Regions from separate parts of the Homo sapiens genome. Here regions 2, 3, 4, 5, 6 and 7 are each linked to region 1. The links are contacts of gene promoters, found by promoter capture Hi-C in blood cells and fetal thymus (Javierre and others, 2016). All regions are on one chromosome and are shown on one strand. The core of a region is centred on a gene start or on the middle of the fragment in contact, and the rest is flanking DNA. Distances in the headings are between cores, read along the strand shown. Region 1 holds the start of CACNA1I (calcium voltage-gated channel subunit alpha1 I). Region 2 has its middle 25 kb from the start of TNRC6B-DT. Region 3 holds the start of TNRC6B-DT (TNRC6B divergent transcript). Region 4 overlaps FAM83F (family with sequence similarity 83 member F). Region 5 overlaps GRAP2 (GRB2 related adaptor protein 2). Region 6 overlaps GRAP2 (GRB2 related adaptor protein 2). Region 7 holds the start of ENTHD1 (ENTH domain containing 1).

Region 1 (4,135 bases), core at 954-3,453:
GTGAAACCCCATCTCTACTAAAAATACAAAAATTAGTAGGGCATGGCGGTGGGTGCCTGTAGTCCCAGCTACTCGGGAGGCTGAGGCAGGAGAATTGCTTGAACCTGGGAGGCGGAGGTTGCAGTGAGCCGAGATCGCGCCACTGCACTCCAGCCTGGGTGACAGAGCGAGACTCCATCTAAAAAAAAAAACTAGCCAAATGGGTGGTCCCTGCTTCCCTCTTCCCCGGGCACTCCCTGGGACAGACACCAGCTCTGCCTCTTTGTCCTCAGTGTCCCAGGGCAGATGTCAGTGAGTGCTGGGTGAACTAATTACCGAGCAGACCCTCTCACCAAGCCTGAGACGCTGTGAGCCGTCCCCCAGAAGGAGCAGGGAGGCTCTTAGCCCCCACCCAGCAAGGAACACCCAGTTCTGCATCCCACTCCAGCAGAGACCCGCTGGTTTCCAAAAGTTAGGGGGATCCAGGGCCCACGATCACCTCAGCCCCCTACAGAAGGGAAGCCTGGCAGTCCTGCAGCCAGTCTCAACATCCCAGCCTGCATCTGGCATCCCTGGATTCCAGGGCAGGACTCAGGCCTGCACCTGACCCACCAGCTCCCCGCACCCTGCCCTGTGTGGCCACAAGCACCAGAACCTCGAGCCACATATGGGCATTTTTTGGTGGGACCCTCAAACCACAAGGCCACCATGGCTTGGGTCCCCAAGCCTCCTCCTCAGTGGTCCCCAGCCCCCACTTCACCCTGCAAGCCAGTGCCACACAGTCCTTCCAGAGCACAGATCTCTCCAGACCCTGCTTCAAATCCTGCCCTTGGAGCACAGTCCCATCCCTCATGCAGCCTCCAAGGCCCTGCAGGGCTCCCGCCACACCTGCAGCCTCACCTCACTCCTCTCTGCCCCTCAGGGCTCCAACACTGCCTGCAACTCCTCCCTTCTCCAGGCTTCGCTCCTGCCATGCCCTCCTCCTGCCTCCCACTACCCTCTCTACCCAACCAACGCTCTTCCTTATTGAGGAGTCAGCTCTGGCATTGCCCATGTACACCCAGCAAACACTGCCAGAGCACCCACGATGTGCCAAGCACTGTGCCAGGTGCTAGGGTCCCCATCCCAGTCATCTGACAGTACCCCAGGGGAGGCAAATGTTAGATTCAGAATTCCACAGTTAGATGTGACAGTTAGATATGAAGCAGAGGAGGAATCCCAGAGGGCTTCCCTGAGGAGGTGATGCTTAAGCTGGGATTTTAAGGATGTAGCAAAGGATTTGGCCAGGTCCAGGGGGAAGGGAAAAGCTTTTCAGACAGGGGGAAGAGCCAGTGAGAGGACCCTGAGGCTCAGAAGAGCACAGGGGGGAAGCCAAGTGGTGGGAAGTGAGGCTGGGTGGAACACACAGGCCCTGATGGGTTGGATTAGGACTTTGCTCTGCACCTCCAGGACCATAGCAAATCATGACAGTCTTAAGCAGGGGGAACATGAGCCCACTGGAGGCAGCAAGTGGAGGCAGGAGGCCTGGGAAGAGGCTGCTCGGAGGCACAGTAAGGAGAATGAGTCCTGCCCTGTGTGTTGGGATCGGCTGCCCCGCTGCCCACGCCCACAGTTCCTGATCACGGCTCCCATCCTCTGTATGGTCACGGCCCATCAGGTGGCTCCAGAGTCTGACTGATCTGCATTCCCAGCCCAGCACAGGTCTGGGGCCCACACTCAAGGACTTTCTGAGCCAGCCAGCCACTGGACTGACCCCACAGCCACCAGCAACTTCCAGAACCTTCACATCAGCAGAACACCAGGTCCTCATCCATTTGAGGTCTCCCCAGACCCACCCTCTGAGCTCGCTCACCACCACCAAGGCCCAGTGGCCTCACCGCAGACCTCAGGTCTCCCAGCCGGAGCAAGGTGTGAGCAGCAGGACTCAATCCAGCCCCCCACCCTTCAGCCCCTGCAGGGCCCCGATCAGCCGAGGCTGCGGAGGATATGGGTTGCACACCATCTTGATGCACCAGTTCCGGGGGCTGGTGGTCTGTCGCAGGCAGAAGAAGGCAATAGGCGCCAGGTCTGGGTGTGGGACATGAGGATCAGCTCCATCCAGAGGCTCCTCCAGGCCTGGCGGGGAGGATGGGGGGCTCCGGGGTCCGGGCTGCTCCGTGGTGACTCCTGGCTCAGCGGCTGGGGCTGCTGCAGATGAGGAGGGCGGGGAGGCGCTCTCAGCCATGTCCACACTGAGCTGGGAGCCCTGGGGAAGACAGAGAGGGTGGCACGTGGTGGGGACAGGCCTGGTACATGCTCCCCAACCTGCCTCTCCACCAATAAGTGGACGGATGCAGCTCTGACAGCCCCACCTGAGCCCCACAGGCCCCTCACCCTCACTCTTGCATGAGGATTACGAAACAGCTGAGGGCCCAGCTGCACCCAACTTGGAATCTGCTTCCAAGCTGGGTGATCATGGGGCAAGTCTGCTCACCCTGGCTGAGCCTCAGTTTTGGCAAACGAAGATAGTGGGGAGAATAAAGCCTTCTTAGAATATAATTGTGATATTAACTCTTTTTTTTTTGTCTATTGGCAATTTTCTGTATTTGAAATCTTTCATTATTTAAGAGAAAAAATGTTTAAGTAATTATAGACAGAAAAGAAAGACGGAAGGGAGGGAGAGAGGGAGAGAGGGAGGGAGGGAGGGAAGAAAGGAAGGAAGGAAGGAAGGAAGGAAGGAAGGAAGGAAGGGATCTTAACTTTTTTACAAGACTAGAGCTATGTATTTATTGCACCATCAAAGGTAAAGAAAACTTGCAAGAAAAAAGAGGTGATTGTAAAGACAGACATTATTGCCAGGACAATGCAGGTTACAAAGGCAATGTTGGGGTGCTGCAGAATCAGAGACTGGGGGAACGCTGGCAAGCCAGGAGGGAATCACAGTTGGCTTCCCTGAGGAAGTAACCCCTGAGCTGAGACCTACAGCTGAGCCCTTGACCCAGGGACCTCCCAGCCACTGCCTTACAAGGCTGAGAACCCAGGAATCTTAGAGTCTAACCTCCTTGCCTTACAGATGAAGAAACCGAGGCCCAGAGAAGGGACAGGACAGACATGTAGCAGAGTAACAGCAGAAATAGAATTCCAGTCAAAGGCCAGGCACGTGACTCACACCTGTAATCCCAGCACTTTGGGAGGCCAAGGTGGGTGGATCACCTGAGGTCAGGAGTTTGAGGCCAACCTGGCCAACATAGTGAGACCTCATCTGTACTAAAAATACAAAAATTAGCTGGGTGTGGTGGCACACGCTGTAATCTCAGCTACTCGGGAAGCTGAGGCATGAGAATCACTTGAACCCGGGAGGTGGAGGTTGCAGTGAGCCAAGATCACACCACTGCATTCCAGCCTGGGCAACAGAGCAAGACTCTGTCACCAAAAAAAAAAAAAAAAAAGAATTCCGGTCAGAGCCCGCTTCCTGGGTCTGTGGCTCAGGCAGCTGCACAGGGCCCCGTGCTCAGAAGGGCCCTGAACTTGCTTTAGAATTCTTCTGTCACCAACATGAAATTCTTAATTGCTTATCAAGAGGTCCCACATTTTCATTTTGTTCTAGGTGATGCAAATCATCTTGCTGGCTCCGACTCCAACTCAAAGCACTTCTACTCCCTGGCCTTGTCTGATGCTCACAACAACCTCAGGAGGACTATTATGCCCATTTGGCAGGTGAAGAAACTGAGGCCAAGAGAACAAAGCGGGTTGTCAAGGCTATGCACCCAGCCAAGTGAAGCACTAGGTGGTGTTGAGAGGCCAGAATCCCAGCACCAGACCCCCAGGCGGGCTTCATGACAACTGATGGTGCCCTCGCTGGCCGAGAGCCTCCGCAACCAGTCAATGGCAAGATGGGACGGACAGCCACTCCCAGGGCCTGCCCCTCACCACCTCACCCCAAAGGGTACTAGTCCCTAAAACTTTGTCCACTGGGGTCCCTGGGATCCTAGAACCCCTACAGGGCCAGTCTGAGCCGTGGGATTGAGAGATGGGGTCCACGTCCCTGGTGCCCACCCAGCTGCTGCTGGGCTGTCGACCAAGCCACCCGGAGCTGATGCATTTGGACATTTCTCTGGCTCCCGGGGGCAACGGGCAGGGGTTGGCACCTCCTGCCACTTCCCCTGGCTGGTCAGGG
Region 2 (4,135 bases), core at 665-3,164, 500 kb before region 1:
TTGAGCTTTGTGAAGAGGTGTCCTAATTTCTATTAACTGGCCTATAGAGAAAGAACAGATTTAATCTTACATCCTGTAGCAGAAAAAAAAAGGAAAGTGGGTTCCATTTTCAGAGAGTAACAAATGCTAGCAAACATTAGAGCTAAGAAAGTAAATAGTCTACAGTCCCTTACCCACAATTCCAAAATCCAAAAACTTCTGAAAACCAAAACTTTTCTGGAATTCATTGGTGGTGAAACCTGATGGGAATTTAATTGGTGGCAAGGTCTGACCTGAACTGACATGAAACTATTTATAGTCTACCCACTTTAGACTTTAGTCATAGCTTTGGCTGCTGAAATACTAATGTATTTGACTCTGAAGTGCTGCCTCTGACCCTGCAGGGGCATTGTATAACATATGGTAAGTGCATCTTATTAGTTTTCAAAAAAAAAAAAATCTGAGCTATAAAATACATCTGGCCCTTAAGAGTTTCTGATAAGGAATTGTGAACCTAAAAATGAGTTTTTATTAAAATGATCCTGTCAACCTTCCTGAAATATACCATTTTTTTCTTAAAATACCTGTAAATTAATTTGAACTAATTCTTTTCCTCAAACTTAAAATATTCTACTTTGAATATCTATAAAGATATAACTGTATTATTAGTTACAATATTTTATTCCACTTCAACATTAAGTCTTATTTTAACTTCTTTCTGAAGGAAACACTGAAATCAGCCTTTAGCAGATGGTATCAGAATGGAGTGAAGACAAAGTTAAAAAAGCAGATCTCTGTCAACGAGCTTCACCCTTTCTTTTTATGTTTAAAGAAAAACAGCATGAGATTTTCTGATGTATCAAAGAACATTAATTTCAAAAGTTAATAAATCCCAATTTAAGTCATTAAAAGAATCAAATCAAATAAAAAGTCACAAAATCCAAGAAGTTACTAAATCACAAAATAAAAGTCAAGTAATAGAACAGCTACAAGAAATGAAAATTATATACTTTAGCCCAGTTACTTATCGATTTTATTATACGAATAAATGACAAAGGCACACGGAACACGCAAAACTCAAATGTCTCTCTTAGAGAAAAAAACTATAAAGCCAGATTAAAGCAAGAACTAAGACATAAAACTAACAACCTATAATTAATTACAATGAAGGGTATTTTAGAAGATACGAAAAAATAGGCACAGAATGAACACTTTAATAAACATAAATACAACACTTGTACCTACATAAAACATAATTAGTTAAAATTTTTTCTTTTAATATACACCAATCCTCCCAACTCCCCACCTCCTACAACACAACTAACATGCCAGAAACACTCCAGCCAAATAGGAACCTCATTTCATAACTGATAGCCGTGAAAATCTCTTTTAATAAATGTGTGGTATAGAAAAGAACCCCTAATTATTTCTGTCTAAAAGAAGCTCTCGGCCGGGCGCAGTGCCTCAGGCCTGTAATCCCAGCACTTTTGGGAGGCCGAGGTGGGTGGATCACCTGAGGTTGGGAGTTCAAGACCAGCCTGACCAACATGGAGAAACCCCATCTCTACTAAAAATACAAAATTAGCCAGACATGGTGGCACATGCCTGTAATCCCAGATACTCTGGAGGCTGAGGCAGGAGAATCGCCTGAACCTAGGAGGCGGAGGTTGCGGTGAGCCGAGATCACGCCATTGCACTCCAGCTGGGGCAATGAGAGCGAAACTCCATCTCAAAAAAAAAAAAATTAAAAAAAAAAAGCTCTTACAAAGTTATACTCAAAGAAACTAAAGACTGAAAAATAACACAAAATATTCCTTAAAACAACTTTTAGGCCAGGTGCAGTAGTTCACACCTGTAATCCCAGCACTTTGGGAGGGTGAGGTAGGAGGATCCCTTGAGCCCAGGAGTTTGAGATCAGCCTGGACAACATAGGGAGACCCCAGCTCTACAAAAAAAAAAAATTTTATATCAGTCAACCTGGTAGTGTGCACCTGTGATCCCAACTACTCAGGAGGCTGAGGTGCGAGGGCTGCTTGAGCCCACGAATTTGAGGCTGCATGCAGTGGGGCATGATTGTACCTGCACTACAGCCTGGGCGAGACAGCGAGATACTGTCTCAAAAACAAAAAACTTTCATAGCAAATTTGTGGCTAGGTCCTGGAAACAAAGGATAATGCTACCTTTACACTATTGTTTACTAAAGTGTGGTTTTTACTCTCCATGAAAAATATGTGGTCATAAAAATAGTATGTATGGAATTCTAAATTAATCAAAAATAAAAATTAAAAATTTCAATGCAAATTTCAAGGTAAAAAGTCCACCTCATATATATGGATTTAAAAGAAAAATCTGGCAAGGTGCAATGGTTCATTCCTGTAATCCCAGCATTTTAGGAGGCTGAGGCAGGGAGGACTACTTCAGGCCAGGAGTTTGAGACCAGCCTGGGCAACACGGCGAGACCTCATCTGTAGAAATAAAAAATAAAAGAAGATTTTCCTGTTGTAACCTTCCTTTTACTTAAACAAAACACAGAATTGAAAGAAAATGAAAAGAAAACAAGACAACGAAAAGTTACTAAGATACTAAACAAGAACATCCAGATAAAGAACAAACCAAGAGGCCAGGCGCGGTGGCTCACGCCTGTAATCCCAGCACTTCAGGAGGCCAAGGCAGGAGGATCACCTGAGGCTAGGAGTTCGAGACCAGCCTGGCCAACATGGTGAGACCTCGTCTCTATTAAAAACACAAAAATTGGCTGGGCATGGTGGCGCGTGCCTGTAGTCCCAGCTACTCAGGAGGCTGAGGCAGGACAATCACCTGAACCCAGGAGGCGGAGGTTGTAGTGACCCGAGATTGCGCCACTGCACTCCAGCCTGGGCAGCAGAGTAAGACTCCATCTCAAAAAACAAAACAAAACAAAAGAACAAACCACGTAAGTAAAAGAGTATCCACTCTATCTACTATAAGGTTCACTATTCACTATAAAGGAACTGTGAAACTATACAGTTAACTAAAAAGATGAAATTACAGAAAATAAAAGCTGAAAGCTAAAAATCTAAGAATTCAAACCATAAGAATACTTTTTTAAAGTCCTTATCTTTCTGAATTGGGGGTGGGATGAGGTTAATAGGATCTTAGGGTGCTGGAAAACAAAGACTATGGAAAAACAATTTTAACCTCTTTCCCCCAAAAAAGAATTTGACCCAGTGATTAAGGTGGCATATGATAGAGTGTATATTCCAATCTACTTGGTTCTATGGACATTCTTTGGTTAATGACATAACATATCCACTGTGATGGTTAATTTTAGGTATCAACTTGACTGTGTTGAGAGATCCCTAGATGGCTGGTGAAGCATTGCTTCTGGGTGTGCCTGGGAGGGTGTTTCCAGAGGAGACTGACAGGTAAGTCGGGGAGTGAGACTATTGCCCTCAATGTGGGCAGGCACTATCCCATTGGCTAGGGGCCTGAATGGAAAAACCCTGTAGAAGAAGGGTGCATTCTCTGTCTCTTCCAGGATGGGATTCCCTCCTCCTCCTGCTCTTGAACATCAGAACTCCACGATCTTCAGCCTTTGGACTCTGGGATTTGCACCAGCAGCCTCTTGGGGCTCTCAGGCCTTCAGCCTTGGACTGAAAGTTACACCACTGGCTTCCTTGGTTCTTAAGCCTCTCAACTTGGGCTGAGACACGCCTGAGCTTCTCTGGTTCTCCGACTTGCAGACGGGCTATTGTGGGACTTCTCGGCCTTCATAATCACAGGAGCCAATTCTCCTACTAAATCCTCTCTCATGTATCCATACAAATATATATTCTGTTGGTTCTGTCTCTCTAGAGAACCCTAATATATCCAGAGTCAAGGCATCTCTTTGAACTAGGGCATTCACATAATTCCCACAGTACAAGACAAATACAGATATGCGCTCATGCTACTGGAATTCAACATCGTATATGAATAGCTTTTAATTAAACTTACGAAGGCATTATAAACTGTACAGGTAACAAAAATCAATTTTACATACTTTGTATCATGCAACATATTTTTGACAGAGTGATATCAGTTTCTTTACACAGAAATTAATTAGTTGATTATCATGATGTGACAAGCTTCCACATTCTAGCCTGGGCAACATGGCGAAACTCCATCTCTACAAAAA
Region 3 (4,135 bases), core at 1,050-3,549, 470 kb before region 1:
CTAAAAATACAAAAAAATTAGCCGGGCGTGGTGGCGGGCGCCTGTAGTCCCAGCTACTCGGGAGGCTGAGGCAGGAGAATGGTGTGAACCCGGGAGGCGGAGCTTGCAGTGAGCCGAGATTGTGCCACTACACTCCAGCCTGGCACAATCTTTGAGACTCTGTCTCAAAAAAAAAAAAAAAAATTGAGACTCTGTCTCAAAAAAAAAAAAAAAAATTTAAGTGCTTCCATTTGAATGAGGGAAATCTTTTTCAAGGGCATGACATTTATATGTTACCACAGAAAAGCAGCTACGGAATTCCTATCAGAAACCACTCTGCTCAAATAATGGTGTTTGGGATAAGCCCTTAATAATAGTAAAGAACTAAGAAAATATAAAAGTATTATTATCATCATCACCACGTCCCACGTGGGACAAGCCAGTCTGATTTGTATTCTGGATATTGGTGAGTGTGCCTTCGTGCAAGTGGGCACTACACAGCCCTCCCACTACCTGCCTACAGCAATGCTGCGCGCTGTAGAGACAATGCGCTAAAAGTTCCGCTCTATAAGAGGCATTTACACAACACTACCCAAAACACATCTGTACTTTCGAAGCCAAGATCACTGATGATTCTCCAAATCAAGAGAAACCTTATACTACTGAAATCTCCCACAGCGAAGAGAGAAGTAACCTCTATTAGTAAACTTTCACAAAATGCTAATGTCTATCATTTCTACACACTTTATATATATACTTAACTGTTGGTGGGGGCACTAATGTTTCATTCACTGATTCTTGGCTTGTTTTATTCACTATGAAGAAATATCTTTGACCAATTTTGTATAATTTTGCTTAAATTATAATACAAATGACCAACTTGAAATTCACCATCCTCTCGTTCAATCTCTAGCACTGATGCTAAAAAGTAATAAAACAGCCAAAACACATGAGAAAGCACGAACTTAAAGTCCCAGGCTGGTAACCTGAATTCCAAAGAATTCAGAATAAGCTGGTCCTTAAGGCGCTTGACTAGAGGTGACCGTTACTGGACGTCTTTAACCACTACAGCGTGTCTCGCTGGATCGGATGTCCAGCCTCTACAGCCGAATAAACCGGTAGTCTGGAACTGAAGGGCACCGGACCACGGGAAGGTGTAAAAACACTCTCCGTGCCCCTCGTTTCCTTGTCCAGAGTCTGAGCCGCCTCCCCAAGTGGCCGCACACGCAGGGCCCTGGCGAGGGGTGTGGAACGCATTCACCTTGTCACGCAGGTCCTGCACACAGGCCGGGACGCTGCGCAGGGACCCGAGGATCCGAGGCCTGACGCCTCCCTCTGCCACCGCCAGCCAGGGGCGGACGCGCCTCCGCGGGCCGGGAAGGTGTCCCCGCGCCGAGGCCCCCCGGAGACGGGAAGCGAACTCGACGGCCGGGCCAGCCCACCCGGAAGCCCTCCCCCAGCTCACACCTGCTGGCGCGTGACGCCCGGAGCCGCGCGCGCGCCCGCCAGTGCCTGCCCGGCCGTTCGGGGCGCCCCGGCCCGCGCGCCGGACGTCGCCCCGAGTCCCTCCCCGCCCCTCGACTCAAATCTCGGCGGCGCCCGCTCCCGCGGAGCGCGCGCTCAGCGCCGCCGGCCGCACCAGCCCCGCGCGCGCTCACGCCCCCTCCCCGGCCCGCTCCCCGCCCCACGCGCGCTCCCTCGCGAGGACACGCACACGCCGCGCCTCCGCTCACCGCCCCGGGCCGCGCCGCGCGCCCCCGGGGGCGCCCTCGCCGACCCCCGGCCGCCCCGCTCCGTCCCGGCGGGGCGCGGGGGAGGGGAAGGACGGCGCGGCCGCCGCACCTCACTCACCGCCGAGCCGTGCCGGCTCCGAGTGCGCGGCGTTTCGCTGTGAGGCGAGGCGCGCAGTCTCCGCTTCTCCGCAGACTATGGAGGCGACGTCGTAGGGGGGACTGAGGGGCGCAGGGGTCACTCCCTCCCGTTTCGCCTTGCAGCAGCACGGGGACCCCAAAAACTAAAAACAAAATAAACAAACTTTCCCCTCCGCATCCCTCCCCCAAAACCACAACACAAACACTCGGGGGCCCGCCCAGAGCCCCACTCCATTGGCCGCAGGGAGGATGCTTCCGGCTCTCACTGGCTGGCTTTTGTGCCCGTCAAGCTGTCGTTCCGCCCCTCCAATTCCTCGTTGCTGCCTTCGCCCCTCATTGGTTAAGTGCTTCCCGTTTAACGAGCTAGGATTGGCTGAGCTGCCTGAGCCAATCATGTGGGGACACACCCCCTCAGCATCCCAGAGGCCGCTTCCTCGGTCGAGGACCCAGAGAGACTCAGGGGAAATTAGAGCATGATGGCGGCCGAGGTCGCTTGGCGCAACCATCGTCTTTTTTCTTTATTTTTAGCTCATTAGTGCCTTGCCTCGGCGCTGTTTCCCTAAGCTCCTCTCTCCAACCAGTACTGCCCTATAACGGAATCCATACGTGCCGGCTCCTTGATTTATCCCCTCCGAAGTGCTGAGTGTGGGCTGGTTGTGCGTCATTGGACTGTCAGGATGTCACTCCCCAGTCAAATCTTCAAGCTATTGGTGGAACAGCAAGAAAGCCCGTCCATCAACAAGGGCTAATACCATTGGTTTGACTCCACTGTGTTATTTCCTGGCACCTTATTGGGCAAATAGGTGCGTCAGATCCGGATTCGCTCTGCTACGGTTAATTGTTTACTGGGGATTTGGGGTCAACTCTGGTTGTTTGGCCAGTAGTTGACGATAATAGTGACTCCCTTGCCTATTTTGTGCCAAGTATTGGGCTGCTTTCTTCACAAACATTATCTGGTTAAACCTGGGAGTAATGCAGTATCCAGTTTTTATAGATGGGAAATTAAGGCTGGCGAGAGCTTAGAAAACTTGCCCAAGGTCATCCAGATACAGAGTCGTTGGTGGGCCTGGCATCTGGTCCTGGGTCAAACTGCAGAGACTTCACTCTTTTTATTATGCTTTAGTGCCTCCACCTTAGACGATGTACTTGTCAGCCAACCTAGCATCTTAAAAACGTTTCATTTGGAACTCAAAGTCTTCAGTCAGTTTCTAGAAGTGACTTTGTTGGGGACTTACTATGGAAAGGTTGTCATTGCCTCCACCACATCTTCCTCCCCAGGACCCATTCCTCTCCCCTTTAAGGTAGACATTTCTGCCTCCTTTTATGCGAAGCCTAGGCACCACTCGCAACCCCTGACCAACCATCTACAACTCATTCTTTGGAGAGAGTCCTCAAGAGCTGGAAAACTAGGAGAAATCAAGTCTAAAGAGAGAGACAGAATAAATCGTCTTAGAAATGAATAATTTATTGCATGCAAAGAGAACAGCCCTTCAGCTCCTGGAAATCTTCCAGGATAGTTGATGCTGAGCAAGACGTGTGCTCCTGGCTGGTGGCCACTGGGTTCTTTCCCTATAGCAGCATTCATCGAAGTGAATCCAACATTTCAGCCAGAGGAGGGCAGGACGCTTAGGACCCATTGCCAGTGAGCTTTTGCGACCGAAATGATCTCCAGGAGCACAACGCTGGACTCTAGCCCACATTCCATCTTGGGTAATTAACATTTTACCGTCCCAAATCCCCATCCCCTGTAGCTTCAGTGGGATCACCGCCCTTGTTTCACTTCCTGATCCAAGCTGTTGTGTAACCTCCTTGGCACTGCTTTAATAATAAAACAACCATTGTAACATAGTAACAATGCTCAACACTTAGAGCCTTTCAGCAAATGAAGCCAAGGTATTTCATAAACGTCAATTAAGAGTAAGTGGCATGTATTCCTAGGGCAACTGCAAGAAGGACAGAAGAAAGATCGTGCGTCAAATTCTAATATAGGTTGTAAGAACGTGAGTCCTTAAAATTGTATGCACATACCCCATATTAGCCTTCCAGTATGGGGATTCTGAACTCAAAAACACAATGAATGAGAAACATTCAGAATCTAAAACCTTCCTAATCTTCAAAGTTGGTTGCTTGGACCCCTATTTTAGCACTTAAGTTGGTGCTTGACTTTCTGGGTAATTGTTTGATACATTTCAGTTGTAAGTACCTTGAAGCAGATGGTTTCTTTTTCATCTTTGTGTCCTTCACATTGTTCTGATCGTAAAAGGCCCCCAAATAAATAATTACTC
Region 4 (4,135 bases), core at 1,002-3,501, 450 kb before region 1:
TCATCAACTCAGGTTCTCCCTTGACAAGAGGGCAGCAGAGACAGAAAGAACAGAGGCAGAATCTGAACTCCAGGGGACCTCGGAAACCCTCAATGGTGCACTCCCCCACCTTCTAGATGAGAACACAGCCCCAGGGAGGGGACGGATGTGTCCTGGGTACAGGGAGCAATGTGTCCCGAATTGAGAGCCAGGTGGCAGCTGCTCTGGGAGGTTCTGAACATTTACCAGGGGAAGGGGACACTTTCCCTGCATGGGGGCCCAAAGGCAGGAGCTCAGGTTCTCACTGATTCCCACGGTGGGTGCCCCATGCTGTCAGGGGCCCACCTTCTCACACATGCAGTCCTGGCTGCTTAGCTGCTGCTGCCTGAGGGGAGACACTGAAGCAGCCCCACTTGGCCATGGTGTGGGAAGCTGGAGGCCGTGAAAAAGGGCCTCTTAGGAGAGGAGCTCCTGGCCAGGCGCGGTGGCTTGTGCCTATAATCCCAGCGCTTTGGGAGGCCCAGAGGTAGGAGGATCACTTGAGGCCAGGAGACCAGCCTGGGCAACATGATGAGACCCTGTCTATACAAACAATTTAAAAAATTAGCCAGGCATGGTGGCACACACCTGTGAGCCCAGCTACTCAGGAGGCTGAGGTGGGAGAATCGCTTGAACCGAGGAGGTTGAGGTTGCAATGAGCTGTGGTCGCACCACTGCACTCCAGCGAGACATTGTCTTAAAAACAAACAAAACCAGCAAAAGACAGGAGAGGAGCTGCTGCTTCTCCCTCAGGCCTTGGGAGGGAGAGGAAAGGTGCGTGAATTTCAGGACTGCAGGTACTGGGCGCCCACCCAGGTGGGCAGAAGCCTTACCGGAGGAGGCTGCTCTGTGTTCGTCTAAAGGACGGACAAGGAACGGGATGATGGTTCCGGGCATCCCCGGACCTTCCTGGCTGTCCGTGCCCTCGCCCTCACTATTCCCTCTCTCTCTCTATCCCAGCATCAGGTGCCCTGGAGAGGAGCTTCCCAAGGGTACCGTCTGTGTCTGCAAGGCTGGCTCCTGGGCACCATGTGCAGACACCAGAGAGCGGCAGCAGGGGCAGGGCCGCCGTGACCACCCGAGATGTGGGAGCAGGGACATGGATGTGGAGGGACACGCAGAAGGCAGCGGGAAGGGACAAGACAATGGGCTTTGAGTTTCCATGGAAACTGCATCTCAGGGCGAGGGGCTGAAGGAAGAGAAAGCTTCCACTCCACTTCAGTCAGGACTCGGGAAATAGTCCTTGCTGCTGTCGGCTCGCCCCCTCCTTCCCCTCTTCCACCTCCTTCCCCTCTTCCCCTCGCTCCCTTGCCAGGTGTTCACCATGGCAACCCTTCCTCCAAACCAGAGGTACAGAGCAGGAGCAGCAGCAGCAGCAGCAGCTGGTGTTAGGGGAGCCAGGGAGCCCAGGAGGAATGGGGATGGGGCCAGCCACCCCTCCCCTGACAGAACATGGCTGTGCCCATGCCTGGTCTTGAATCCTGGCCTTACTACCACTTCCTGTGACCTGGGACCACTTCATTCACCTCTCCGAGCCATCTGCCACCTCTGTGCTTGAAGGGTGGTTGTGGGGGCAGAAGGGGAGAGAGAGTGCCTGTGCAGGACCTGGCAAGCCAGCAGCTCAGTCAACGTCTCCAGGCCAAACAGAAGGAACGCCCTGACACTCCCACTGTGCCCACAGCCACAGAGGCGCCCAGGCCTGTTCCAACTCCAAGAAGCAAAGTTAGCCAACATTTCCTGAGCACAGAATGTGTCAGACTCCAAAGCAGTGCTGGGGAATTAGCAGAGGGGATGACACTTGTGCTCCCTGCTCTCACACCATCACAATCCGGTTAAAGCTGGTGTGCAGGAATGCAGGAGTCCTGGAAGCCCTTGGGCCGGGCACACAAGACCTCAGGCCCTGCCATCGCCCACCTGGCCAGCCAGAGCCCAGTTCTCATCACTGGGCTCCACAGCGATGGAGGGAGAAACCCCACCATGGAAAGTCCCCTGACTCAGGGATGCAGAGATGAGAAAGGCACCGCCACCAGCCACCTGAAAGGCCACCCCAGAGACTGCTGCAGAGAGAGACATAAAGTCCAGGGCCTCCTGGGGATCCCAGAGAGATGCCCAGAAAGACGCTGCCATGGAACAATCCCACCCAGGGACAAGCAGCTGGGCAGACAGCACTCAGCAGAGGGACGTGGAGAAACCAAGTCGGACTGCCCGTCACAGAGACAGGAAACTGGGTCAGGGCACCAGTAGGGTACAGGGGAGGGTGGGGTGTGTCTAACCAGGTGAGATCCTGACAATAGGTGATCTGGCAAGGGAAAAGGTTTGCTAGAAAGAGCCCTCAACTCAGAGCCAGGGTCGAGCTGCAGCCATGCACCCCACTGTGCAGAGCCCCCGTTTCTTCACTTACAAAGGAGAAAGTTTCTCAGCTTATTTGATTTGTTGGGTTACCATGAGGGCTGATCTGAATGCCTTCTAGCAGTAGCATTAGAAGCTCTGAGACCCCTCCATGCCAAGCCTGGAATCCTTCTCTTTTTTCAGAGAAGAGGAAAATGAAACTCAGAGCTGCAGGACTTGCCCAAGGCCTCCAGGCAGCTAATGGCCGGGGCCAGAATGGGAACCAAGGACCCCGGAACCCCAGAGCTCCTGCCCTCTCTGTGCCCACAGATGGAATCTACTCCTCTGCAGGTATGAGGCAGTGCTCCTGGATAAGAGCCGATGCGGGGCGAGGGCCAGAGGCCTGGGGAGGCACCAGGCCAGAGGGAAGAGGGCTCACCTGAGATGTCAGCACTGGAATTCTCGTTGGGCCTCTTCCCCGTCAGAAACTCCACTTCAGAGGTCTCGGTGGAGACAGAGCTGGCCATGCCATTGGGCGCCGCAGGCCTCTTGGCTCGGCGACTGAAGAGCCTGCTGCTGAAGCGCCTGGCGGGGGCGGCCTCCCCCCGGGCCGCTTCTCCCATGCCGTTTCGGCTGGGTGCCTCTCGGGATTTGGGCTTCAGGTCTCTGTGCATGTGAGAGACCATCCTGCCATCCTTCTGGCTCAGCTCTCCCAAGGGGATGGGCTCCACGGGGGGCAGCACCTGCTCCACCGTAACCAGGTCTTTCAGGAAGCTCTCCAGGCGCCAGGCCGACTCGCCACCGCTGGCGCCCTCCTCCTGCCCCTCCGGGTTGCCGCCCGCCTCCCGCTGTTGCCGGGCAGCCCAGCGCATCATCTCCCCAGGCGGGTGGCGGCAGCCTGACACCAAGGCGTACTTGGGGTTGATAAGCTTTCGAGCCACAGTGGAGGAGTAATGGAGGCCAACCCTGCCCGCCAGGCTCAGCTGCCGGTACAAGTCCACCTCCTCGGAGATGGCGTACAGCTCCCGGAACTCCGTGTCAAAGGGCTCTACGTTCTGTCCTGTCAGGAGCAGGAGGAGGTTTCTGTCCACATGGGAGGAACTCCAGGTGAACCTGGGAACGTGGGGACAGAAAAGCAAGACACATGTGCCCAGGCCTCTCTCTTGCCCTGCCCCCGCCCCCACCTGCCCCTCCGCTGTGGCCAGACCCTTGCTGCAGGTGTACGGCTCCTTGTGGGCCACACGCTGGACTGATTCCCTCCACCCACCCGTAGCCTCCCTTTCCCCAGAGCTTGGCCTCAAATGAAGCAAGCAGGCAGTGGGTGCAGGGAAAGAGCATGGGAAGTCAGGCCTGCATTTAAACCTGGTTTATATTCTCATGTGCCTTGTAAGCTGGGGCTCCCAGGACATATGTTCACAGGGTTGTTGTGAGGCACAAATGAAGTAACTCATATAAAACATTTAGCTCAGTCCCTGGCACAAACACACATTTAAAAAATAGTAACTGCAGCTGCCACTATTATGAATATTATTCTACTCTGTATTGGTTCTTTTCTGATTTTTTTAAGCACTTAGTGTCTGCAGAAACCCATACTCTGACCATGTGACAGGACTTACCCTGCTATTCACTGTTTCATGTGCTCAGCTCTCTCTTCTCGTCACCTATATTTTAATTTACTTGGAGGGCAGAGATTACACAGATACAGTCTCTCGTGTTCCTGCTAAATTATTTTAAAATCAGAATTCTGAGGCCAGGCTCACACCTGTAATCTCAGCATTTTGGGAGGCTG
Region 5 (4,135 bases), core at 740-3,239, 400 kb before region 1:
TGAAGATTTCCTGACAAAGCTTTTACAACTTCTGCAATCTCTGCTGATGTTTAAAATAATTACTATTAGGAAATAGTAATTATTATAGGAAATTCCTGTTTGCATTTCATCTGAATTCCTCTCACATTACATTTTTTTAATTCTAGAGATAAGGATGCTAAAATAATAAGTCACCTGGGTAGCCAAATATGAATGACGTCATAATGACCGTTCTGAATTGCATCTGTCCCAAAGCCAAAGTGACCTATTCGTTAGCAGCGAAGAAAAAATGGCCGAATATCCTCAGAAGAAGAGCCCAATTAGAGTTGTGCTCACTGCTAAGTTCTTTGCCTTTGCTCCTTAACATGTGGACCTAGCAACAGCACCCAGTAGCTTGTTAGAAATTCAGGACCAAGTTGGAAGCTGCATTTCAACACGGTCCCCAGGCAATTCGTAGGCACTTTAAATTTTGAGAAGCACCATGGTTAGATCACCCTAGGGCCATCTAAAAGTGGGTGGGCAGTGGCAGGTGCCAGATATTTGAAATGCGGTGAGGCACAGCAAGTGGTTAGGAAAACCCAACAACTGGTCCAACAGGACCTGGCTTTTCTCTGGAAGCTTCAAGTTCCCAAGTCACATAGAGTGTTGCAGCCAAACTCGGGGACAATGTGTTTGTTGGCTGCTGGTTCTGTGGCTGGTGAGAGGAGCTGGCTCAACCCTCCTCTGGTGCTGAAATGCTGTCAGGTAGAAACTAGGGCCCGTGGGGACACATGCGGAGGGGCTCCCCCTGGCAGCACCAGAGGCTGAGGGGGGTTGAGCTCTCTTTCCCCCTCCCCTCCATAATGTGGACAGTTTGGTTCTTGTCCTCTTTACCTGGCCGCTAAGAGCCCTCATTCCTTGTAGGTGGTTTGGGTGACTTTCCCGCTTCCTTCTGAATGGAGGCTGATGAGCAAGGGAAAGATGCTTTGGCATCTCAGTACAAAATACTCTTCAGTAGCTTTTGCTACAACAGAACACCGAGCTCCAGGGGTTCTGAAAGCTCTGCTCATACCGCCTGCCTACGGGGTCAGCTCCTGCAGGCCGATGACCCCTGTCACCCCCTGGTCTCGTTCTCACTCTCTACCTGAGGGGTATGCAACGCAGACACCAGACACGGCCTGGCCAAACAAGGACACTTTGTTTTATTACTGCTTTCCTGAGAAGCCTTTCAAGGCACAAAGTCTCCACCAGAATCGAATCACATACCTCCGTCTAACTAGAGCTGGTCCTCCCACATCATCAGACAACTGGATGGAGTTTGTGGGCTGTTTAAAGCATATGGTTTGTAAATACTGTAAAATCAAACATTACTTATGGCTTTTATTTACTGCAGCATTTCACATTACCTAGCACCAAAATAGCTGAGGAGGTCTTCTCTGCCTTTGTTCTTTCTCCTGTTCTTTTCCTTATGCTTCTTTGCTCCCTGCCTTCCGCAGCAGCGGTTTCTCTGCTCTGATTCTTCCTCTCCCCACTGCCCAGCCCTCCTCCTGCACCATCTGCCCACCAACTCCACACCGTTCTCTTCCCTGGCCCCACTCACCCTCTCCCTTTCCTCCCCCTGTGCCTCTCACGCTGCCCCTTGATCCTCCTGGATGTCTTAGCTACCTTTCCCTCTCTCTGCTTTCACTTCCAAAAGCTGCAGGTGCTCCTTACTCACACTCGACTCCCTCCTGCCTCCACCAGGCTATTTTCTTTTCCCTCCCAATACCCACCACAGAGTTCCTTTTTTCCTCTTTCCTCTAAAGGAAACATGAGGATCAGAGAACTGTAGAATCACAGTCACAAGGGACACTGCTTGTGCTACACTGGCAGTCACTTCTGAGTCAGAAAATCTTTCTTCTCCGATCACCTTCAATAACGGCTGCCCCCAACCCCATCCCTCCTTAGAGCAAGAGAGGTTGGGGAAGAGAAAACTTCCAGGCTCCCTCACCAACACTTTCACCCCCTTTCCTGTCTCAGCACACACACAGACACACAGATGCATGCACGCACATGTCCACACATGCAGGAATGCACACATATGCATACACAAGCACACATGTATACACACAGGAGTGCACAAATATGTGCGTGCAAGCACACATGTGCACACCTGCAGGGGTACACACCCATACCCACAAACTCCGAGTGCACTTGGTGCAGAACGGGTTTGCACCCGGCCTCCCCTAAGGCCCTGAGCTTCCTCTCTACTGTCTCCTTCGCCCCTGGCCAGGCTGACCTGTGCTGTGCACCTCCAGAGTGAGCCCTTGGACACATGATTCTAGCGTGATGGGATGGAGAGCGACAGCCATGGTGGGGTTCCTTGCTCCAGGTGCAACTCTTGGGCAGCAGGAGGACAGCAGTGGTCAGACTGAACAGGAAGCTGGTGTCAAAGCCAGCTTCCACCTGGGGTCATGTTTAGTCAATCAATTCATAGTCAGGCTCCTATCATCAAGTGGGCTTCTTTCCATGCCACTGGGCAAGGCATCTTCAAAAGAGAAAATCAAGAGGGAAAATGAACAGAGCCCTGAAGACATACCCTTGTAACCATAAAACAATGACTGTAAAATTCAGCATTCTCAGCTAGAGCTTCTTCAAGCACTTTACGGAATGTAGGATGCTATTTCCTTCATAGCTGGGGAAACAGAGGTTCCACTGAGTAAGCTGCTTGGGGATTGTGGAAAATCCCTCGATTTCCCAGTACTTCGCTCCTCACATTGAAACATTCATTTGAAAGACCCAAGGAATATTAATTTGAACAGAGATGAATGTCTCAGCTAGGTGTTGACTAGGAGGCCAGCCTTGCACAGGCAGGGTCTCTCCAACCCCGTCCTGCCTTCACATCCCCGCTCAGACTCGCTTGGCTGCCCGCAGCACTGGGCTGCACCTTAATTCCTAATGCAACAGTGCCCACCCCTTGGAGAACAGGAGGAGAGCTGCTCTGCAAGCCCTCCAGGTGAGCGGGGCTTGCAGGTCAGCTAGAACGTGCCCCACCAAGTTCAACCCCACCCTGTTGTTCTGTGTCCAGTGCCGAGGTGTGGTCTCTGCTTAGCTGTTCTCCGTGAAAATTCCCAAGACAAGGAGGAAGCAGTGACAGCTGAAGGCCAGGACAAAACTCCATTTCATTTCCCTGCCCCCCTCCCAACTCCCCCACTGCCTTCCACACACCCCTGAGGGGGGCAGAAAAGCAAGTGTCAATATTATTCTCCACCTGAGTTCCCTTTTGCATCAACTAATTACCAGCCCAATTGCCAATAAATTACTAGTATAAAAAGTTGTGTGTGTACACAGGCAGATGTAGATAGATGTATGTATATATAGTCATGGAGTCCAGCCTTTTTTCCTTGCCCTCTTTCTTGTGGGCAGCTCCAGACAAAAAGCTTCTGTCCCCTGAAGAGTTTATCGGGTCATGGGTGCCACGTAGTTGGCAGGGAAGAGGCCCAGCTTGTTGTGCAGGCGGCCGGTCCACCAGGATGGGTTGGAGCTATCCAGGACCTCCACCACCTCCCCGCTGTGGAACCCCAGCTCGTCATCCTCCAGGGCCTCAAAGTCATACAGCGCCCGGGCCCACCGCACTCGCTGTTGGGGGAAGCACAGAAGAGGCTCTGCTGAGCTGTGGGCTGGGCAGGCAGGGGAGGGTCTGCTGGCTCCTCCCACCACATCCAAGTCTTTGAGAGCAACATTCCCTGAAGGCTGACCCCTCTGCAGCTTAAAAAAACTTTTTTTGTAGAGATGGGGTCTTGCTATGTTGCTCAGGCTGGTTTTGAACCCTTGGCCTCAAGAAGTCCTCCTGCCTTGGCCTCCCAAGTAGCTGGAACTACAGGTGTGAGCCACCATGCCCGGCTACCCTGCTGCAATTTAAATCAGATACCTATGCACAGGCCTGAGCAAGAAGTTCCCAGAACGCACCAGCGTCACTCTGGAGACCCAGGACTTTTACCAACAGATGTTATTGTCCAAAGCCCCAATAGACTCCCTGAGAACCACTCTCTCCACATCAATAGGTGGTATTTTTATCTTGAGTGACAAACAGAAGGGCAACATGCCCCAAACAACAGCCCTTGGTGTTAGGGCAATCAAGTCACAAGTCAAGATGGATCACAGGCCAGGCACGGTGGCTCATGCCTGTAATCCCAGC
Region 6 (4,135 bases), core at 726-3,225, 360 kb before region 1:
CTTTCCTTTTGTGAGGCAGCTGTCACCTTAGCTACTGTGTTCCTGTTCCTCCTCCACCCTATTCTCCTTGCTTGACAGAGCAAAGGCCCCTGTGTGTTGAAGCTTTTGACACACAACTTTCTTTCTTTTCTTTTTTTTTTTTTCGAGACAGGGTCTCGCTCTGTTGCTCAGGTTGGAGTGCAGTGGCGCAATCTTGGCTCACTGAAACATTCGCCTCCCAGGCTCAAGAGATTCTCCTGCCTCAGCCTCCTGAGGAGCTGGGATTACAGGTGCCCGCCACCACGCCTGGCTAATTTTTGTATTTTTACTAGAGATGGAGTTTCACCATGTTGGCCAGGCTCATCTTGAATTCCTGACCTCTAATGATCCACCTGCCTTGGCCTCCGAAAGTGCTGGAATTACAGACGTGAGCCACCATACCCGGCCTTGACACACAACTTTCTGAGGGTCATTTTTTCCATTTAGAATTTGTTAATGTCATGTTTGTCACATGACCTCCCAGATCCACTCAAGTCTCTCTTGTCATTTCAGGCCTTCAACAATCTTTCCCCATCCTGTCTGTCAAAATTAACTTTAGAAAATCACCTGCACCATGCAAACATGCTTTAGTAAATAGCTTCCCTTTGTTCTCTAAGCACTCCATCGACATCCTTGTCTCTGCACTGGTCTTCCTTCTCCCATCAAACTCACATTGCTATGTATGGTTGTGCAGGTTGCTCACTGCATAAAGGCCTCAGGCTGAGGTTGCAGTAAGGGCTGAAATGCATCCAGTGCGCTTCTCATCAAGCTGTGAGTCCCAGTATGGGGCTGCATCTGTTTAGAACTAGCACATTCTTCTTACTTAAACAAAGGCACCGGGTCTAATTTCAACTGCTCCTTTAAAGCTTTACTCAGGGCCTGCCCCCCTCATACCCCATGGTCTCACTTTCTCTTATTCTTCCAGGGGACTTGAAGTTATCTACCCCTTGCTCAGTGCTGCCGCCATCTGGGTAAGGTAGGCAAGCACATGAGCCTTGGAGTCAGGCTGCCAGCATTCAAACCCTTCTCTACTACTAGTTTTCTGAGTGACCCTTAGCAAGTTATTTAACATCTCTGAGCCTCAGTTTCCTCATTTTAAAAACAGGGATGATAATAGTGCCTGCCTCATAATGTTCTTGGGAAGAATATGTGGAATATCCATCTAATCCACTTAGTATGGTGTCTGGCACATAGTAGGCACTCAATAATTCAATAGTTGTTAGCTATTGCTACTTTTTTTTTTTTTTTTTGAGACAGGTATCATTCTGTGGCCCAGGCTGGAGTGCAGTGAGGCAATCAGGGCTCACTGCAGCCTCCAACTCCCAGGTTCAAGTGATTCTCCTGTCTCAGCCTCCCAAATAGCTGGGACTACAGGTGCATGCCACCACATCCAGCTTTTTTTTTTTTTTTTTTTTTTTGTAGAGACAGGGGTCTCCCTATGTTGCTCAGGCTGATCTTGAACTCCTGGCCTCAAGTGATCCTCCTGCCTCAGCCTCCCAAAGTGCTGGGATTAAAGGCATGAGCCACTGTGCCCAGCCAGCTATTGTCACTTTTATGCATAGTCCTTAATAGCTAACAACTATTAAGACATGTTGTGGCTCGCAGGAAGTATGAATAAGAAAATGTACACCTCACCAAGTAGGGTTGTCAGATAAAATACAGAATGCCCAGCTAAAGTTAATTTTCAGATAAGCAACCAATAGTTGTTTTAGTATATGTATATCCCAAATCTTTACTTTCTCCACAGAAATCTCAAAGTGGTGGACTGAAGCATTGTTAAGAAGAATAGCAAGGACTCGTTTGATCTTTTCACCCTTTCATCTCGAATTTCCCTGCTGCCCCTCACCTCATGCAACGCCTGTCCCACAAGATTTCTTACATGAAAACCGGGGAGTGGGCTAGCCTTTGGGATAAGCAGTATGAAGGTTCTAGAATGAAGCCTTTAGATGTTCTAGTGAAGGTTGTGGTTTGGAATAGAAGTATATAATCTCACTCATATATCCTGTGAGCCACAAAATGTTGTACCTTCTGTTTTCTCTACCTTTCTTGTGTTATTTGCTGCTTTTAATATTGTGTGGGTCAAAAGGCATGCTTTTACCATTATATATTATGGAATACTGTGTGTTTTGATAAATAAGTTTTATATATTGGAATTTCTGTTCTTATAAGGGAATTTTTCTTGAAGTCCGTATTTGTGGTAAAGCAGAAATCTTCTAAACTCTCTTACATATTCAGACATTTCTCTTGTGATTACTCTGGCATTTTACATTGTTACTCTCAAATTCGCCATCTACTTTCTCATGCCTATAACTCGTCAAATTTTTCCATGCTTGGCATCTGCACCACAGCAAAAAATTTCCTGGGCACCAGCCCCAGTAAATTATTACTAGTCCCATCGTGTAGTCATCAGGTTGACATTTACTTGTACCACCCATGTATCTAGTCCTGATGACAAATAATCCTTGAATTGGCTTATAATACCCCATCCTTTCTTTATATGATTTGCACCATCCTAGAACCTTGTCTCTTCCTGGAACCATTTCAGAGGAAGTTACAAAACCACCAACAGTACCAAATGTGGTTCTGTTGTTTGAATGATCTTCTCTCTTTAATAGCCTTTCATTTCAAGTCCTCCATTACTGACTCCTTGCACAGATTCTTCTCTCTCCTTCCTCTCTCTGTACTTCCAGGAATTGGTGATTTCTATCCAGGTTCGTTTTCAGATTTTCTGCTGCTTAACTTCACAAGGCTGTCTTGCCCACCTTCTCTCTCTCAGGAGTATCCATATGCTTTGTGTATTCGTTCAACAAACATTTCCTGTGCCCCACTCTGTGTCAAGCCCTGTGTAGAGCATGAAGATCCAGTGTGGACTAGACAGCCCATCTTAAGACCTCAGACAGTTCAGTCTTGTAGGAAAAACAAGTCAGCCAAACCAGTGAGATCAGCATGATAAAGGAACCACACCTCAAGTGGTTCAGGAACCCAAAGGGCAGGCTCCTAATCTAGCCTAGGACGGAGACAGGTGCAGGAGGGATTAGTGGAAGCTTCCCAAATGAGGTGACAATTGAACTGAGTCTTGCAGACAAGTAGCTAGGCAGAGTAGAGAGCTCATATATGACACACAGAGAGAATGGTGTGTGCAAATAGGAGTTGGGGACCCAACTGGTTCAATCATGGACTGGCAGGAGATGGGATCAGTGATTGGACTGGGGGCAGATCATGGAGGACATTGAAAGCATGCCAGGGACTTAGGACTTCATACCAAGGATGATGGGAAGTCATTGGACATTTGAAAACATTTGCATTCAGGAATGTTTAATCAGATGGCAGTATGAAGGAATGGAGGGCAGGGTGAACCGAAGATGGAGAAAGCATCGCAGTAGTCTTGGCTAGTAATGATGAGGGCCTGAACTACAACAGTGACAGATCATGCTCTTTCTTTTGACACTGGGTCTTTCCACATGTTTTTATCTCCATAGTAAGTACTTTACACATTATCTCATTTAAAGCATGCAAGAATCTCAAAATAAGAACTGCTATTGTATCCAGCTGACAGATGAGGAAAGTGAAGCTCAAAGGGGTTAAATAATCACCCAAGTTCATATGTATCAAAAAATGGTGGAGCCAGGATTCAAACTCAGCCTGTGCACTTAAACAGTATTCTCCCTTGTCTTAACTCAAGGGAATCACTGTGAATTATGACCAGTTGGAAGGGGGCTAAAAGACAGAAAAGAGTCTAGAATGGTGTTATCCAATAGAAATAGAATGCAAGTCACAAATGCCAGCCATTATGCCATTTTAAATATTTTGGTGGCACTTTAAAAAGTAAAAGAAAATTATTTTTAATAACTTATTTAACCCAATATGTCCAAAATATTATCATTTCAATTTGAAATCAATATAAAATATTATTGAGATACTTTGCATTATTTTTTCCAAACTAAGTCTTTGAAATCTGGTGTGTATTTTACACTTACAGCACATTTCAATTTGGACAAGCCACATTGAAGTACTTGGGACAGCATAGGTCTAGAACGACTCTTGAGTTCCTGCTGGGGGCATTAGGGTAGATGTTGGTAGCATTTTCTGAGATAAGGGAATACAGAAAGAGGAGATA
Region 7 (4,135 bases), core at 870-3,369, 320 kb before region 1:
CAGGAAGCCTTCCCTGACTATGCAAATATAGACAAGTCCCCCTTTCACTCCCGTAACATTGTTTGCCTTTATTATAGCAACTACTTACAATTGCTGATTTATTCCTGTTTCCTCTATTAGAGTATTAAACTACAACTTCCTTCTAGTCTCATAGCTCAGCATAGTGCTTGGCAAATAGCAGGTGCTCAATAATGTAGAATGTATGCATATTCCACAAACTCAGCTTTCTCACCTGTACAATGGGATAATAACGCCTACTTCTCAGCATTCCTTTGAGATTTACATAAGCTATACATATAAAAAAACTTCATAAACTATACCTCAATGTATAAAATACTTGTAGTTTGTCCCCCACTATTTTATAAAGTCAAAATACCTCAACATAGCATTCAAGGCCCTGAACAATGTTTTCCAGGTCACCTTTTCGATTTCCCTCTGGCTCCCACCCCATTACTCTATATTATAGCCAGTCAAATAATATTCCAAACTCACCAACTTCTTTCATACCTCCTATCATTTTATATTGGATTCACCTATCTACATGTCAGTATCAATAATGTGGGCTATTATTATTATAATTATGACTGAAGTAGTAGGAGATAGAAACAAATGTTGCTTTTGTCTACTAAGTGTTTTGTTATCCTCTGTCTTTTCCCCTCATCCTAGTCAATATTCCATTAAAACACAGGTTCGATTACATTTTTCAATGCCTACTGGATAAAATCACCTTGTAGTATGGATAAGGTTCTTCATGATCCAACTTCCCTCTGTTATTTAACCTTCCTCTGCTGCTCCACTAATAGCCTTTGTGACAGTTGTAGTAACTACAGTACATGTAGTTTTTCCAAGATAATAGGCTGGCTCAGCTTTCATGCCTTTACACATGATGTGTCCTTTGCCTCTTACGTCCTCCTCTACTTTGTCTATCCAGTGAACTCCCTGTCATCCTTTAAGATTCAATTCAGATGTAAACTCTTCTGTGAAACCTGCCCTTAAATACTCAGTGGCAGAATTAGATGATCTCTTCTCTCTTACTATGCCATACATATCTTGTTACAATCTTCTCTGACGGTGCCTGTCACCTCCACTAGCCTGTAAACGTATCCAGCAGAGGGCTGCTTTTTATCTCCGAGTCCTTACTGTCTGGCACAAAGTGGGTGCTCACGGAAAATCAGTTGAATACATCAACAATTACCCGTCAGTGGCACCTGAAGCCATCAGTCACTGGAGCTACCCCATCATTGTCCATCACACACACTGCTCTTCATAGACTACTATTACATTCTCAGTCCTTTGAGGTGGCAATCACGTGCTGGTGGTATTTCTAGTCAGTTGAAATGACAGTAGTAACACACTTTTAAAAATGTATTCATGTGCCATGCTGGTGCGCTGCACCCACTAACTCGTCATCTAGCATTAGGTATATCTCCCAATGCTATCCCTCCCCCCTCCCCCCACCCCACAACAGTCCCCAGAGTGTGATGTTCCCCTTCCTGTGTCCATGTGTTCTCATTGTTCAATTCCCACCTATGAGTGAGAATATGCGGTGTTTGGTTTTTTGTTCTTGCGATAGTTTACTGAGAATGATGATTTCCAATTTCATCCATGTCCTTAAAACTTAAATAATAATAAATAAAAAAAAAGAGATATTATGCTAGAAGTCTGAGTATTTTACTGATTTTCCATTTTAAGAATAAATTATCATGGCAAATTTTAAGTTACATACATTATTTTATTGTCTACTTTTTAAAAACATTATCAGCTTACCTTGGCATTTTTTTTCTTTTTTTAATGTCCGTTTTTACGTTGTGAACATTTAGTAAATTAATTTATACTCATTTTTATTTAATTAAGAAAGCAGCTAAGAATAAATGCTAGTGTCTGATTAAACTATTTCCCAGATCTCAAAAAAAAAAAAAAATTTATTCTTTGAAAGGAGGATTAGGGCAGTGTCACAGCCCGGCAGCCTGTGAAACGAAGACACTTACCTTCATTCCCCTTGGTACCCTCCAGCTCAGGTATCTGCAACCATCTTGCTTGACGCCCTGACAGGAACTGCACCAGGCCAGAAAGTGAGGAAGCGGAAGTGGGGACCGGCCTGGGCCCTTGAGCCTGGCTGGAGTAGGTGGAATATCCTGGGGAGAGGAAGTTTGGTCGTTGGGCAGCGGCCGACTTTCCTCTCAGGTAACAGCCTCTGCTTGGGAGTGGTGGTGGGGCTCAAGGCGGGTCTGGAAACATCGGTTGCCTTCCCTCCTCCCGTTTCTTGCCGGCACCGTCGGAGTCCAGGTGGGGGCGGGAGGGCGGCGAGGCCATTACCATCCGCAGGAGGTGAAATCCCTGTGGCGTGACGTGACGCCATCACGTCCCTCTCTCCTTCTAGAGGCTTTCCTGAGGTCCAGCCTTCCCCTCCACTGCCGGTTCTCCTAGGGTAATTGCTGGTCTGATTCTCTGTGTGGCCGAACGCCCAGCACCTGGCTCATCTGGTACACAGTCGTCATCTGAAGTGGGGGTTGTATGAATGAAGACGAGGATGCCGAGGAAAGGCCCTGCCCACAGAAAGTTGATTCTTGCTCAGCCTCCACCCGCCATTTTCAAAATTCTTTCCAAAGCATCTCGTTTCTTCCTCCCCCACGGCCCTGTCTGGCGATTATTCTTTGTGTTGCGGATGAGGGAACTGAGACTTAGAGAAGTTGTTAAGTCTTAGTTAGGAAATGGCAAAGCAGGACCTCAAATCATGGCTTTGAATCCTAATTAAAGGAGAGAGATGAGGCATGTGAAGGCCCAGGTGTGAGCACATTGTGAGCGTTCAATGAAGAGTAGCTGTTTACTCCAGGGTGTGAGGACTGTGTCTTGTGCACCTGTTTCTCCATTTCCTAGAATGGAGCCTGCCACATGGTAAGCTCTGGAAGATTATTAGTTGAATAAATTAATGAACACACACTTAGGGCTGGAAAAGATTAGATTCTCTGCCTCTGACAGTATTCTTTTCATCAAAACAGTAACACCTCCTAATGGCATGGTAGTCTCTATAACCATTTTCCCGTAGCATTCTTGGCCAGAGCTCATTTCCTTACGAGTCAAACTCATGTCTATAGGCAGAACCTGTACAAACACAAGAGCTGTTCTTTTCTCATAGTTCCACCTTAAATGCATCTTTTCAGAGATAGCTCTGGACACTCAGCCTCTTAGATGCTATTGTCATTATTGTCCCAAGTCTTTGGATAAAGTCAGTTCAGCTCCTCTGTTCCTTATTCTCAATCCTGAAATCCAAAAACTTTTGGAAATCAACTTTTCCTCCAACTCATTTGGTGGTAAAACTTGGCCTGAGGCCATTTGTAGTCTTTATTCCAAATATTTACATGTTTTTATTGCAGACATGTTAATGTGTTTAATTGTTCAGAGCAGCTCCACACCTTACTGTGGGTATCATGTAATATATGGTATAGACATGGCACTACTCTTGAAAATTCCACCCCTACCACCGCACCCAAAAGAGAATTTCCACAAATCATCTGGCCTCAAAGGATTGGGATAAAAGATCGTGGACCAATAGTTTAATGCCAGCTGATAAATCATTTCCTGTTAGAATTCAGATGAAATGGGGGGAAGGAAACAGCATTGTGAAAGTGGGCAGATCTAAAAATAACACTAAAAGACCTTTTCTACGTAATCATTTGTTTTGCTGGGAATTATTTAGGAGAGAAAGCTCCTTAACTGAATGGTAAGTTTTAATGTGAGGTTCATGTTTTATATTTCTCCACAAAGCTATACAAATGGTAGGTACTCAAGAAATATCTGTTGATGATTTGAAAATATTTGCTCAAAACTATAGAATTTTACTTGACAATTATGAGAGCTAGATTTTATTTATTTATTTTTTTAATATCATGCTTTATAGGAGTTTGTGACCATCTGGGCAACCAATAAGAACTCGTGTCTAAAAAAAAAATTTTTTTTGAGGCCAAGCACGGTGGCTCACACCTGTAATCCCAGCACTCTGGGAGGCCGAGGCAGGCGGATCACTTGAGGTCAGGAGTTCAAGACCACCCTGGTCAATATGGTGAAACCCCGTCTCTACTAAAAATACAAAAAATTAGCTGGGCTTGGTGGCTCATGGCTGCAGTCCCAGCTACTT

Evidence for each region. Contacts are between HindIII fragments. The CHiCAGO score rates a contact against its expected background, and 5 or more counts as called.
Region 2: a fragment that was not itself captured here is called in contact with the fragment with the promoter of CACNA1I in region 1 in 1 of 17 cell types (monocytes); the score reaches 5.2 in monocytes.
Region 3: a contact is called between the fragment with the promoter of TNRC6B-DT here and the fragment with the promoter of CACNA1I in region 1, in 3 of 17 cell types (M2 macrophages, activated CD4 T cells and megakaryocytes). The highest score is 5.4, in M2 macrophages.
Region 4: a contact is called between a fragment that was not itself captured here and the fragment with the promoter of CACNA1I in region 1, in 16 of 17 cell types (M1 macrophages, M0 macrophages, megakaryocytes and 13 more). The highest score is 21.2, in M1 macrophages.
Region 5: a fragment that was not itself captured here is called in contact with the fragment with the promoter of CACNA1I in region 1 in 7 of 17 cell types (activated CD4 T cells, M0 macrophages, naive CD4 T cells and 4 more); the score reaches 7.9 in activated CD4 T cells.
Region 6: a contact is called between a fragment that was not itself captured here and the fragment with the promoter of CACNA1I in region 1, in 8 of 17 cell types (megakaryocytes, naive CD4 T cells, M1 macrophages and 5 more). The highest score is 8.9, in megakaryocytes.
Region 7: a contact is called between the fragment with the promoter of ENTHD1 here and the fragment with the promoter of CACNA1I in region 1, in 2 of 17 cell types (naive CD4 T cells and activated CD4 T cells). The highest score is 7.3, in naive CD4 T cells.

The regions. Positions count from the first base shown.
Region 1 is chr22:39,568,821-39,572,955 of GRCh38, reverse strand. It overlaps CACNA1I (calcium voltage-gated channel subunit alpha1 I), which reads right to left and starts at 2,203. Exons shown (of 37, transcript NM_021096.4): 1 at 1,968-2,203. The coding sequence starts at 2,203. The HindIII fragment of the contact is 9,228 bases long and covers 1,289-4,135 here.
Region 2 is chr22:40,067,080-40,071,214 of GRCh38, reverse strand. It overlaps a transcript of TNRC6B not described here. Among named protein-coding and RNA genes, the nearest start is that of TNRC6B-DT, 25 kb to the right of the region's middle. The HindIII fragment of the contact is 4,346 bases long and covers 1-4,087 here.
Region 3 is chr22:40,042,694-40,046,828 of GRCh38, reverse strand. TNRC6B-DT (TNRC6B divergent transcript) reads left to right here and starts at 2,299. Exons shown (of 1, transcript NR_163486.1): 1 at 2,299-3,699. FAM83F (family with sequence similarity 83 member F) reads right to left here. Exons shown (of 5, transcript NM_138435.4): 5 at 3,295-4,135. It also overlaps a transcript of TNRC6B not described here. RefSeq lists silencers at 1,246-1,315, 1,326-1,545 and enhancers at 1,846-1,965, 2,276-2,575, 2,657-3,304. The HindIII fragment of the contact is 12,286 bases long and covers 1-4,135 here.
Region 4 is chr22:40,020,614-40,024,748 of GRCh38, reverse strand. FAM83F (family with sequence similarity 83 member F) reads right to left here. Exons shown (of 5, transcript NM_138435.4): 4 at 2,786-3,459. Among named protein-coding and RNA genes, the nearest start is that of TNRC6B-DT, 22 kb to the left of the region's middle. RefSeq lists enhancers at 1,068-1,568, 1,569-2,069. The HindIII fragment of the contact is 2,052 bases long and covers 1,226-3,277 here.
Region 5 is chr22:39,970,346-39,974,480 of GRCh38, reverse strand. It overlaps GRAP2 (GRB2 related adaptor protein 2), which reads right to left. Exons shown (of 8, transcript NM_004810.4): 8 at 760-3,576. The coding sequence ends at 3,397. Among named protein-coding and RNA genes, the nearest start is that of TMA7B, 12 kb to the right of the region's middle. The HindIII fragment of the contact is 2,780 bases long and covers 600-3,379 here.
Region 6 is chr22:39,929,850-39,933,984 of GRCh38, reverse strand. The region is part of intron 1 of GRAP2 (GRB2 related adaptor protein 2); the gene reads right to left. Among named protein-coding and RNA genes, the nearest start is that of TMA7B, 28 kb to the left of the region's middle. RefSeq lists an enhancer at 409-1,073. The HindIII fragment of the contact is 2,178 bases long and covers 887-3,064 here.
Region 7 is chr22:39,891,744-39,895,878 of GRCh38, reverse strand. It overlaps ENTHD1 (ENTH domain containing 1), which reads left to right and starts at 2,119. Exons shown (of 7, transcript NM_152512.4): 1 at 2,119-2,184. It also overlaps a transcript of GRAP2 not described here. The HindIII fragment of the contact is 18,515 bases long and covers 1-4,135 here.